Linked DNA regions of Homo sapiens: all the other regions are linked to region 2. The links are contacts of gene promoters, found by promoter capture Hi-C in human tissues and cell types (Jung and others, 2019). All regions are on one chromosome and are shown on one strand. Each heading gives the region's core, a stretch centred on a gene start or on the middle of the fragment in contact. The rest is flanking DNA. Distances are from core to core; before and after follow the strand shown. Region 1 overlaps SEZ6L (seizure related 6 homolog like). Region 2 holds the start of KIAA1671. Region 3 overlaps SEZ6L (seizure related 6 homolog like). Region 4 holds the start of LOC124905096 (a long non-coding RNA gene).

Evidence for each region. The method cuts DNA at HindIII sites, captures the fragments that hold promoters and counts their contacts. A contact is called where the count stands out against the background at its distance.
Region 1: a fragment that was not itself captured here is called in contact with the fragment with the promoter of KIAA1671 in region 2 in 1 of the 25 tissues and cell types used here (lymphoblastoid cells).
Region 3: a contact is called between a fragment that was not itself captured here and the fragment with the promoter of KIAA1671 in region 2, in 1 of the 25 tissues and cell types used here (dorsolateral prefrontal cortex).
Region 4: a fragment that was not itself captured here is called in contact with the fragment with the promoter of KIAA1671 in region 2 in 1 of the 25 tissues and cell types used here (mesenchymal stem cells).

The regions. Positions count from the first base shown.
Region 1 is chr22:26,334,536-26,337,235 of GRCh38, forward strand. The region is part of intron 9 of SEZ6L (seizure related 6 homolog like); the gene reads left to right. Among named protein-coding and RNA genes, the nearest start is that of SEZ6L-AS1, 89 kb to the left of the region's middle. The HindIII fragment of the contact is 3,866 bases long and covers 1-2,700 here.
Region 2 is chr22:24,951,397-24,954,186 of GRCh38, forward strand. KIAA1671 reads left to right here and starts at 1,320. Exons shown (of 13, transcript NM_001145206.2): 1 at 1,320-1,376. RefSeq lists a silencer at 1,137-1,386. The HindIII fragment of the contact is 5,810 bases long and covers 1-2,790 here.
Region 3 is chr22:26,222,119-26,224,818 of GRCh38, forward strand. All of the region lies in intron 1 of SEZ6L (seizure related 6 homolog like), which reads left to right. Among named protein-coding and RNA genes, the nearest start is that of SEZ6L-AS1, 23 kb to the right of the region's middle. The HindIII fragment of the contact is 8,757 bases long and covers 1-2,700 here.
Region 4 is chr22:26,360,521-26,363,220 of GRCh38, forward strand. The region is part of intron 12 of SEZ6L (seizure related 6 homolog like); the gene reads left to right. It overlaps LOC124905096 (a long non-coding RNA gene), which reads right to left and starts at 505. Exons shown (of 3, transcript XR_007068038.1): 1 at 1-505. The HindIII fragment of the contact is 5,861 bases long and covers 1-2,700 here.

The DNA.
Region 1 (2,700 bases), core at 2-2,501, 1.4 Mb after region 2:
GGAGCAGATCTGATTTACCTTCTGGAAAGATTCATCTGGCTGCTAAGGGGAGGAGTATCAGGGCCAGGTGAGGATGAAGTCAGGAAACCACCGAGGTGCTGTCCAACTGCCCAAGAGAAAGGTGATGATGGTCTGAGGATAGCCTGCGACAGTGACCAAGAAGAAAGAGGTGGATGTAGAGGGGGAGATGGGAGCTGAGATCTTCTGCCAGGAGCTCACACTTTGTGCCTGTGGAAAGCCTTTCACTCTGGCACCTGAGAAGGGCCAGAGTGGGCAGGGTCTGGTCTTGGGAAGCTTTGTGGTCCTACAGGATCCTCCCAGAAGGGATCCTGCCACTCCCAGTCACAGTCAGACCAAGCCTGCCTGCCTGCCAGCATCTCTCCATCTCCCCTTCATCCTGGAGTCAAACTGCCATCCCGTTTTCCTAGCGCCTCCTTGGATCGTATCTAGCTGACATCTCAATTCAGACCTCAGCGGAAAACCACACTCTGCCCTGTGGCTCTCCCTGCAGTGAACTCAACACATTTTCATCTCGGTTGCTTACAAAGGTCCGATTCCAGGGATGCTAGATGCACTTGGTAAATACATGGATGAGCAAGTGAAAATGTAAGCTCCTCTTTGCATTGAGGGGAAAAAACTAAATTGCCAAACTCTGTGTACATAATTGGAACCAGTCTGTCAAAAAAGATTCAGAAGAATGAGGCAGAGAGTAACTTGATTATTTCTCCCAGTGACCCTTCAGGCACATCCTATATTATTTTTTTCCTCTGGGTGAAAGCTGCGTTTTCATAGGTCTTCTGGTCACAATAAGTGCAGTCCAGTCTGAAAATCTTATAACCCTAAGTATCATTCATTTTGAAACTTCATCCCTCCCTCAACTGTGCTCCTCTGGCTGGGAATTTTGCAAAGGGCATGGGAGGTAAGGGAATAGGAGACTCTAACTTGGCTACACTGTTATGTTATAGAATATATAGAATGCTGATTTTTTTTCTGTCTTTAATAGGATATTAAATGTGTGAAAGTCTCCTGAGCACAGCTGCTCTTAACTTTCCCTTTTGCTGGGGTTCTATCACCCTTTCAGTAGGAAGCCACTTTTAAGGAGACCTATAGTTGGCTTCTGCCTGCAAGGTTCACAACTAGACCCAGGAAACATAGATCATATCCCTACTGTCATCAGTGATGGGATGCTCACTGTCAATATCTGCTTTTATTCTCCTTGCTCTGACCAGAGGCAGGCAGGCATCCCCAGTCTGATTTTATCATTTCTTTTGGTGAGCATCAAATCCAGCTACTGTTATCCAAGCCACAAAAGAAAGACACCTGCCAAGTCACCAAGAGTTCCCTTGAAGCCCTCCTCACTAGGCTTAATGTGAGGGTGATACACATTCGACCCTCCCTCCTATGATGCCCCACAGTGACCACTCCCCTCAAGGCAGTCCTTCCTGCCAGCCTCCTCAATGGCCAGTGCCTTCTTTTCCTTCTCTTATATAAGCTAGAGGTGGGAAGAAGGGCTCAGACTGGAATAGCTGCATCGATGTTAGTAGATGATGCCATTGGTACTCTGTCTAAGCCGTGCAATACTTGCCACCATGTGCCCATAATGACTTCCTACTGCAAGGCCCTTCCCACTTCTCCAGCATTTCTCTGATGCCATGTGGTCACATGGGCAAGCCAGAAGTTCTAGGGACTCAACACATCCAGGAGCATCCCTCAGTCAATAAAGGATGGAAACTGGAGGATAAATACCCCAGCTCCTTCTCCCTATGGATGTGTTCTGCACCATCTCTAAAATTCCTGCAGGACTGAACCCAAAATGCACAGTGAAACCTGCTCATCAATCCCCTCTTCGTTGAGTCCTTCCCTTCTTCTTGTCTCATTTCCCCACCAGTGCTGCCTAGGATGGCCTCCCAGACAAGCCAGACTTCAAAAGGCATTTGTATGTTTGCTTGATCTCTGCATCTGGAGAATCCAAATGCAATCAACAGCCAAGTATCTCTCTTTGGAAAGTGGAAATCCACTGCACCTATTGTCTTGTTCTTAGCTTAGGGAGACACTGCTAAAATTTCAGAACAACAGAAGAAATTGCATTTAATGGTCTGTTGCACACCGTTTACAATGTGCATTTATATAAGTCATGGTTTCTCGAGTTTAGCCCTGTTGACATTTTGGACTAGATACTTTTTTGGGTTGAGGGGCTGTCTTGTGCACTGTAGTATGTTTAACAGCATCCCTGGCCTCCACTCACCCATGGTACCCACCTAGTTAGGAAAAATATGTTTCCAGACATTGCCAAATGTCACCTGTGAGGAAAACTGCCCCTAGTTGAAAACCACTGACATAAATCATCTGATGTCATTTGGCATAAACAGAAATCCAAAGAAGGATGATGGTGGTGATGATGATGATGACGATAGTGATGATGGTGATGGTAACGATGATGATGCCAAAAATGAAAGTGGAATATAACAACATAACATTCAAATGACATCACCGAGCTTGCCCAGGTGCTAATGCTGAAGCTGGAATTTGAATCCAGACCTTCTGCCTGCCTCACCTCATCCCCAGAGCTCATGACATAGACGAGGAATATTAAGGCTGATTCACAGACAAGAAATTTCAGAAAAATCACATGCCTTCCATGAAAGTGACAAAGCTGAGAATCAAACCAAAGCTTTCTGATTTCCAAGCCAGTGTGCTCTT
Region 2 (2,790 bases), core at 70-2,569:
GAGCTACCCTTGTTTCTTACACACACCCAACAATTTAAGAGCAAAATGAGGCAAGAAGTCTCCCCACCAATCCTCCTGAAGCCACACAATGTGATGTCTTTTTCTTTTTTTTTTTTTTGAGATGGAGTCTTGCTCTGTCGTCCAGGCTGGAGTGCAGTGGCGCGCTCTTGGCTCACTGCAATCTCCACCTCCCGGGTTCAAGCCATTCTCCTGCCTTAGCCTCCCGAGTAGCTGGGATCACAGGCATCCGCCACCACGCCCAGCTAATTTTTGTAATTTTTAGTAGTGACGAGGTTTCACCACGTTGGCCAGGCTGGTCTCAAACTCATGACCTCAGGTGATCCACCCGCCTCGGCCTCCCAAAATGCTGGGATTACAAGCCACCGTGCGCAGCCTGTGATGTCCTTTTCTTTCTCTTTTTTTATTGAGGTCTATCTTGCTTATAATAAAGGCACATTGATTTTAGGTCCTCCAGTTATTCATGCTCTGTACATTTCCCATAGGAGCACATGTCACAGATTCAATTTGATATACTCGTGAAATTATTTGTTTGAATATCTGTAAGCTGCACAACAGCCTGGATTTTGCCAGCTGCCCACCACTGGGTTCTCCAGCACCCAGCATGCAATAGGTGCTTAATAAAGATCTGCTGAATGAAATGAGTAACGGATAACAGAACAGGTATTTTCTCTTTCAGAGGCGACTTCCTACGATTCTCTCAACTTGTCCACAAGTTCCTGTACCCATTACCCCACAACTCACACCCACAACATAATGGCAGGAGGATGCGCACACAGTAGGCGCTCCAGCGAACTCTCAGGTGCAGTGCCCTTGCTTGGCGCGAGGAGGCGCCAGCACCGCGCACAGACCTTGCCCGCCCCCGGGCCGGCACCAGCAGCCCAGGCAAGTCAGTGGGCCCACATTTATGGAGCGCCTCCTGAAATCCTGGGTTGCATTAGGCTCTCGGGGTCGCCGGCTGGGCAGCGGGTCGGTGCCGGTGGCGGGGGATCCTGGCTGGTGACTGGGGAACATCCAGGGAACGCGGGAGGGTACCCGGAGCAAAGTTCCCAATTGGACAGAGCGGGGTCGGGCCTCGAGGGGCGGGAGCGCTTCCGGCAGGGGTGTCCAAGCGAGTCGTGACCTCTGACCCGCCGGAGAGGTCCCAGGCCCAGGCGCCACTGCGGACTCGGGTCCTGCCTGCTCTGCTCCCCTCCGCGCAGGCGCGGCCGGCGGCAGTTCCCATGGTGACGGGGGCGCGTCCCCGCTCGAGGCCCCGCCCCCAGCAGGCTAGGCTGCGCGGGGCTGCGGGCTCCCAGGGCAGGTGCCGCGGGCTGCGGGCAGGTGGCGGCGCGGCGCGGGCTGGCGGTGGCTCCACGGTAGGTTGCGCAGCGGCTGCGGGCAGTGGGGGCCGGCTGGCCGCCTCCTGTCCCCGGCCGACGAGGTAGCTGGGGGTGACGGCGGCTGGCGAGGGCCGCCAAGTTTCTGCCCGGCCGAGGCCCCGGGAGAAAAGTTGGCAAAGTTGGCCGGGGAAGAGGCGGGGAGCCGGAGGATTTCCCCAGACTCCGGGTCTGCAGGGAGGGAGGATCCCGGTTTGGGAGCCGGGGAATCCGTCTCCCGAGACTTGAGAGTGGATCCCGCGGGAAGATCCCGCACAGGGCAACCAATGGATCACGTGCCACCTGGTTGGCGACTTGGGAGTCGATCCCTGGAGGGGATCGGGCGCTGGAGGCCTGGGGTCCCACTGGATCCCCAGTCAGGGGTGACGGCGAAGGGTGATTCGAGACTGGGAGCGAGAGGATCAATCTCCTCCCATGCCAGCCTGAGCCTTGGGAATGGATTCAGAGAGATCCCGTGGCTAGGAGCTGAGGGATCGCTGGAGATCTGGGTTACTCAGCCTGGAGCTGCTAGGGTCTGGACATTTGTGCGGGTTGGAGGCCCCGGAGGTGGAAGTGGGAAGCAAGGGCGGCGAGCGAGACGGAACCCTGGTCGAGGGGAGCCCGGAGGACAGCGCGGTGGTTCGGGGGGCGTGAGAGGGGCGGCGCGCGGGGCCCCTCGGACGCGGAGGCTCCGGACACGTCCTCTCGGCCTGGCCTGCGCCCCCCCTCCGCTCGTCTTCCCAGGGCGGAGGCGCCCTGATGGGATTAAGCCTCAGTCCCCCTGTTACCAGGCAGGCCCGCGTGGTCCCCGCCCCGATGGCGGCGCGGCCCACCCGGGCTCACGGGTGGGGCCCTCGGGATGGGAAGCGGCTCGTTGACCCCCACCCGAGCCTGACCTTTTCACACCCTGCTGGCACAAACTCGCCTGGGAGTGGGGACGCCGCGCCTTAAAACCCTGCTGTTTGTCCAGTCCCGGAGCAGGCGTGTGACCTCCACCGCGCGACGCCTAGGTGGCTAGGGCTTCCTGCCTGCCGGGACTGAACTTTCTCTAGCCAGGAGCAGCCATTATCTTTTGGAAGGGAAAGGACTGTACCTGTTGCACAAAGAAAAACACTTTCTTTGCACCTTTTTTGTGACCTTGGGCAAAACACTTAACCTATCTGAATCCAGATGGGGACCCTCTGGGCAAAATGGGCTTGGCCTAGGATGGATCGGAATGAAGGGTATGAAACAGGTAGGGGCTCTATAAGTATCAGTGCCTCCCTCAGTCTATGGCCTCTCCTTTCCCGTGCCCCATCCCCTGTGCTTGCCTTACAGTATCTAAAGATTCCAGAAACCCTACTTGCTATCTTTTGAAACCGCAGGATTAGAGAGCTATTTAGCTTAACCTTTCTTCCAAATGGGTTAATTGCCC
Region 3 (2,700 bases), core at 46-2,545, 1.3 Mb after region 2:
GGATCCATTCCAGACTTACTAAATCAGAAACTCTCGAGTTATAACCTGGGAATCTGCATTTTAGCCCACTCCTTAGATGATTCTGGTGCATGCTCAGGGAACTGCTGCCATGCCCAGCCTCACAGGAACTTAGAGTGCAGCACTTGGAGGGCCTTTGAGGGTTTCTAGTCCAACTTCCTAACTTTACAGATGGAGCAAGTGAGGCACAGAGAGGTTAAGTGGCTTATGCAAGGTCACACTGCAAGGCAGTGACAGGGCTGAAACACAAACCGAAGACCTCACTGGCCAGCTGCCTTTACTCCATTGCATCACCCACCTTTTTCTCTGGAAGGAGTTATTGCTGCCTCTGCAAGGGGAAGAGGTGACCAGCATTATTGAGCCCTTCTTGTGTTCTAGCCACTTGACATAGGACCTTCTAGCAATCCTAAAGGCTAGGTATTACCATGCCTATCATTCTGGAGAAAAAAAACTGAGGATTGGAGAGAAAGCATCATGTTTGCTGAACAGCAAAATCCTCTGGTGTATAAGACAAATCTCAATATCATAGGGAAAAACCGGGGGGAACGCCCACATACATGTGAAATGATTTGAAAATGGGTTTACATAAAAAAATTTTTTTCATTTATGTAAGCAGGATATATTATATGCTAGAACCCAGTAGGAAATCTCTGGCCCATGACTTGCTGTTGTTAGAATTTTATCCATCACAGTGGTTCTTAACCAGGGGCAATTTTGCCCACCAGGAGATATCTGACAATGTCTGGAGACATTTCTGGGGGTCACACCTGGGGTGTTTGCTACCGGCATCTACTGTGTAGAGTCCAGAGAGGCTGGTTAACATACAATGATGCATGGGACAGCCTCCCACAAAAAAAAAAAAAATTATCTGGCCCCAAATGTCAATAGCGCCTAGGTTGAGAATTCCTGATCTGTAAGATGTGAACTTTTTACTTTTGTTGTGACATCTTTGTGGCCACCTCCACCGTAGGAGTTGTAGCAGCTCACCCCAAACGTGGTAGTCACAGGATTCTTTCCTTAGCTGTTCTGTCTTCCACCCACAAAATGGGTATATCACGGTGGTGTTAGATGTTGTGAGTAGAAGACAGAAAATAGGTTCTATGTGAACCAAGTCTCCTGTCAAAGATAATGCAGCTACCAAGAAATAAAATTAGACTCCAAGTCCAGGTAGGTCTCATTCCAGAATTAATGATATTTCAAGTGTTGTTCTTGCCTCATAGATGAATCCTCCATATACTCCATATATTTTGCAACATAAGCCACTAAATTTCCTTGCATTGAACACAGTCTATTTTTAATTATATTGTAGAGTAAATTGGATTTCACAAGTTTAATTTCAAGCACAAATTGTGGCTCCTCAGCCTCCCCTTCAGTGGTAAGAGGTATTGCTTGGGAGCTAAGAATGTGGATTTATGATCAGCCTGAGTTTGAATCTTGGCCCAGCTGATTTTTAGCTGTGTGTCCCTGAGAAAAAAAAATCCCTTCATTTCTCTGGAACTCAGTTTCCTCCTCCAAAATGTGGAGATAACAATAGAACCCACTTAAAAGGATTATTGTGCATTTTAAATCAAATAATGCATATAAAACACTTTGTATGGTGCCTGGTACATGAAATGCCCTCAATGAATATCAACAGTAATAATTATTATCATCATGGTCATTGTCATCATAATTGTTATTATAATTAAGGCCCCCGGATAGGGAGAAGGTGGTAGATTGGAGAGTTTGGGGAATACTAGGCATTTGTAAAACAAAGCTGGTACAGTCTGGATCTGATAATTCATCACTTACTAAATTTGACCCATCATTTTTGCTTTTAATGAAAATATATTCAATATTGGAACTAATTACTATTAAATTGGCCTCGTTATTAAGCATCAAGGGATCAATGGTGGACTCAGTGGGTTATCGTCATTGAATAAAATGTCTCAAGGAGAAAAAAAAAGTTGAATTAATACACAATCCTGGAGCCAATTGAAAAATCCCTAATAACACCGGCTGTTGCTGACAATTAATTCTAGGAGTCTGTAAATCATGAAAGAGCTTTGGAGGCAGAAACCAAGTTAGAAGAAGAAATGAAGAATTCAACTCATGCTGGCTCTCTCAGAGGTTCTATAACCAAGAGGGAGTTAGGGAGATTTGAGGAAACCTATTACTCCAACGAGGGGTATGGGGCAGAAGGAGACCTGAACTAGGAGTCAGCCTGGCAGGGCCTGGCTCAGCTTCTGTTCTCTATTACTGGGTGCAGGAGTAAAGGGGGAGAGAAATATGAGCTATCAGAGAAGGAGACAGACACAGATCATCTAGTGCCCTTAAGCCCATGGCAAGGAGTTTGGGCTTACTCTATGTGTAATGGGAAGTCTTTGTTGGGATTAGAGCAGGGAGTGGCTTCATAGGATTGTGTAAAACTCACTCTGGCCACTAGACTTCAGAAAGACAAAGTGGGAAACTGGTAGGAAGTTATTGCAGTTGTCTAGATAAGAGTCTACAGAGGTTTGACATAGGATTAGGGTGGTGGCAGTGGTGATGGAGAAGAGCATACAGATACAGGATATGTTTTAGAAGTCAAGCTGGCAGGAAGTGCTAATAGACTGGCTGTGGAGGGTAAAGGAGAAGGTAGGCAATCAAGGATGCTGCCTAGATTAGAGCTTAAATAGTTAGGTAGATGTTGATAACCTCCAT
Region 4 (2,700 bases), core at 89-2,588, 1.4 Mb after region 2:
ATTTATGAAAGAAAATTTCCGAGGAAAGGTTCATGGGGGAATTCTTTTGTGTCGCCACTGCCACCTGCTGGTCATTTTTCTGCACTGCAGGTAATACAGTAGGGATTTGTGTTCTCTGAAGGGAGCCACCAACGTCATCAAGAAAAAGCCTCCCCGACCAGGGGGCGGGAAAGTGAGGCTTCTCCTGTGCGCTTTCCCCAGCACAGCTGAGACCACACTGGGCTGTAATGACCCGGTAACTGTTCTCTGTTCCCCATTCGACTGAGTTTTGGGAGAACAGAAAACGTGATTCTCTAATTCACTGCTTCATACCCAGCTCCTAGCACAGGGATGGAACATTGGAGGAACAGAGTCTACGGGCTGAAAAAAAAACAAAAAACAAAAACAAAAACAAAAAAAACACGGAGAGTGTATTCTGGACTCTGGGAGTTCAAAAGCTATAAAGTGTTGTGCACCGGGCTGCACTTCCCGAGGAGTAGGAGTATTAGATACACTACGGGGATACCCACGCGGCTTTAAACAGTGTCCAGATGAACTTTTTGTGAGTCGTTTGGCTTAAGAAAATTAGAAAAATTAAAACTGACATGTGAAACCTCTGATTATAAGACTATTATTATTTAGAGTGAGGCTAAATTATACTGTGCAATCTAAATAGAAAAACAAGTCAATAGAAATTTTTAAAAATATATTACATAGGCCAGGTGTGGTGGCTCATGCCTGTAATCCCAGCACTTTGGGAGGCTGAGGCGGATGGATCACTTGAGGTCAGGAGTTCGAGACCAGCCTGGCCAAAATGGTGGAACCCCGTCTCTACTAAAAATACAAAAACAAAAAAAATCAGCTAGGCTTGGTGGCGCATGCCTGTGGTCCCAGCTACTCGGGAGGCTGAGGCAGGAAAATCGCTTGAACCCAGGAGGCTGAGGTTGCAGTGAGCTGAGATCACACCACTGCACTCCATCTTGAGTGACAGAGTGAGACTCTGTCTCAAAAAAAAAAAAAAATATATATATATATATATGTATTAAGTGAACAACAGTACAATTGGTATGAAAATATGACAAGAGTTTTAAAAGCCATAAAAATAATCAGTGTATATTGGGTGCTCACTATATGCTGCCCATCTCATGTGCGTGAGCTTGTTTTATTCTCATAACAACACCTTGAGACAGCCCATTTTAAAGATGAGGAAACTGAGGCTCAGAGAGGTCAGTTGTGCTCACAGACATACAACTAGGATGTGCATCCTGAGCCCTTGGACACTTGAACCCAAGCGCTCCTGCTCTGCAATTTGCCTTTAAATGAAATGATGTGAGGTCTTTCAAGAAATATTTACTGGGCACCTACCCTGTACCAGGTTGCCAAGGATGCAGCAGTGAGCTCAGCTGGGTTGAGGACCAAAGACTTCCTCAGGATATTTTCAGAGGAATCATTAGAATATGATTGGCACTGGGTTCTGTTCATTATACCATCTATGCTTATTGTAAAGTAATGCAGACCCACCCTGCATTAAAAAAAAATACATCAAAGCACAGGCTTTAAAAATAAAAATAAAATTCTCCCTTCCTACAGTCCATCCCCAAGGCACGCTCTGCAGGGTGAATGATTCCTTGCCAGCCCTCTTAGGTCTCATCCATAAACACATAATAGAGTGCTGCCTTGGAGGGAGCCCCATGATTGACTTAAGCAAGGCTTTGTGATTTGATTCTGGGCTCAAACACAGAAGCGTTGGCTGCATATCCATCCTGCTCTGGAATGCCAGGGGGCAAACTTCAAGTATACAGATGACCTTCAATTAGTGGAAGGATTAGCCTTGGCCAAGTGTCAGCTGAACCACTTACTGCCTCATCTCTGGGAGTCTTGTGGAAAGGGAGCTACATTCAAAATCTCTGCCTCTCTCGCTCAACTATTCCAACAGCCCCTTCCCTTGGCTACTTTAGGGGTCTTCTGCAGCCACCCAGGGTCTTCTGAGTTTCTCTCTTCTATGGCACCTGCCATTTTTAATTAAATTGTCCATTTACACATTTGCTTGGCCCCTTAGAGCATGCAGACCATGAGCTCTAGAGGACAGGAATGATGTCTGATTCACCTCCTCACCGCATTGCTGGACGCATTGCTGGGCATGAAGTAAGCACTCAAGATATATTTTCTGAATAAATGCATGGGTGCCCGCCAGAGCTATCTATGGTGTCATCCAAGATGCAACTCCAGCTGCACAGTGACCTGGGAAGTCTCTTCCCACAGGCTGACTTCTGGGCTAGATTTCAAGGGTGGGAAGGAAACAGTTCATAACTCCCAGGGAAGACTGCTATTGAAGTATAAAGGAAAACCCTTCAACCTCAAGAGTGAAGCCAGATTCCTACCCGTCCACCCACTGGAGGAGATCAAAGTCCCGATTCTTCATGTATGGTGATTACTGTGACTAAAACATACTCATCAATTGATTCATTCATCTTTTCATTGGAAAAGTGATACATTTAAATGCCTACAAGGCCAGGCAAGTACCACGTGAAAGACAATAGGGAGTGGCAGAGACTGGGGCTAAAGTAAAGAATATTCCTGGTCTAACAGGGAAAGCCATTACTCAACTCCAGCCAGTCATTGCCATGTAACAATGTGAACCCAGTATTGCCCAATCTTCTAATGTTTCAGAAGAATCCAGAAATCTAAATTATTATTTGAAATCTCCTAATCTGTGAAAGC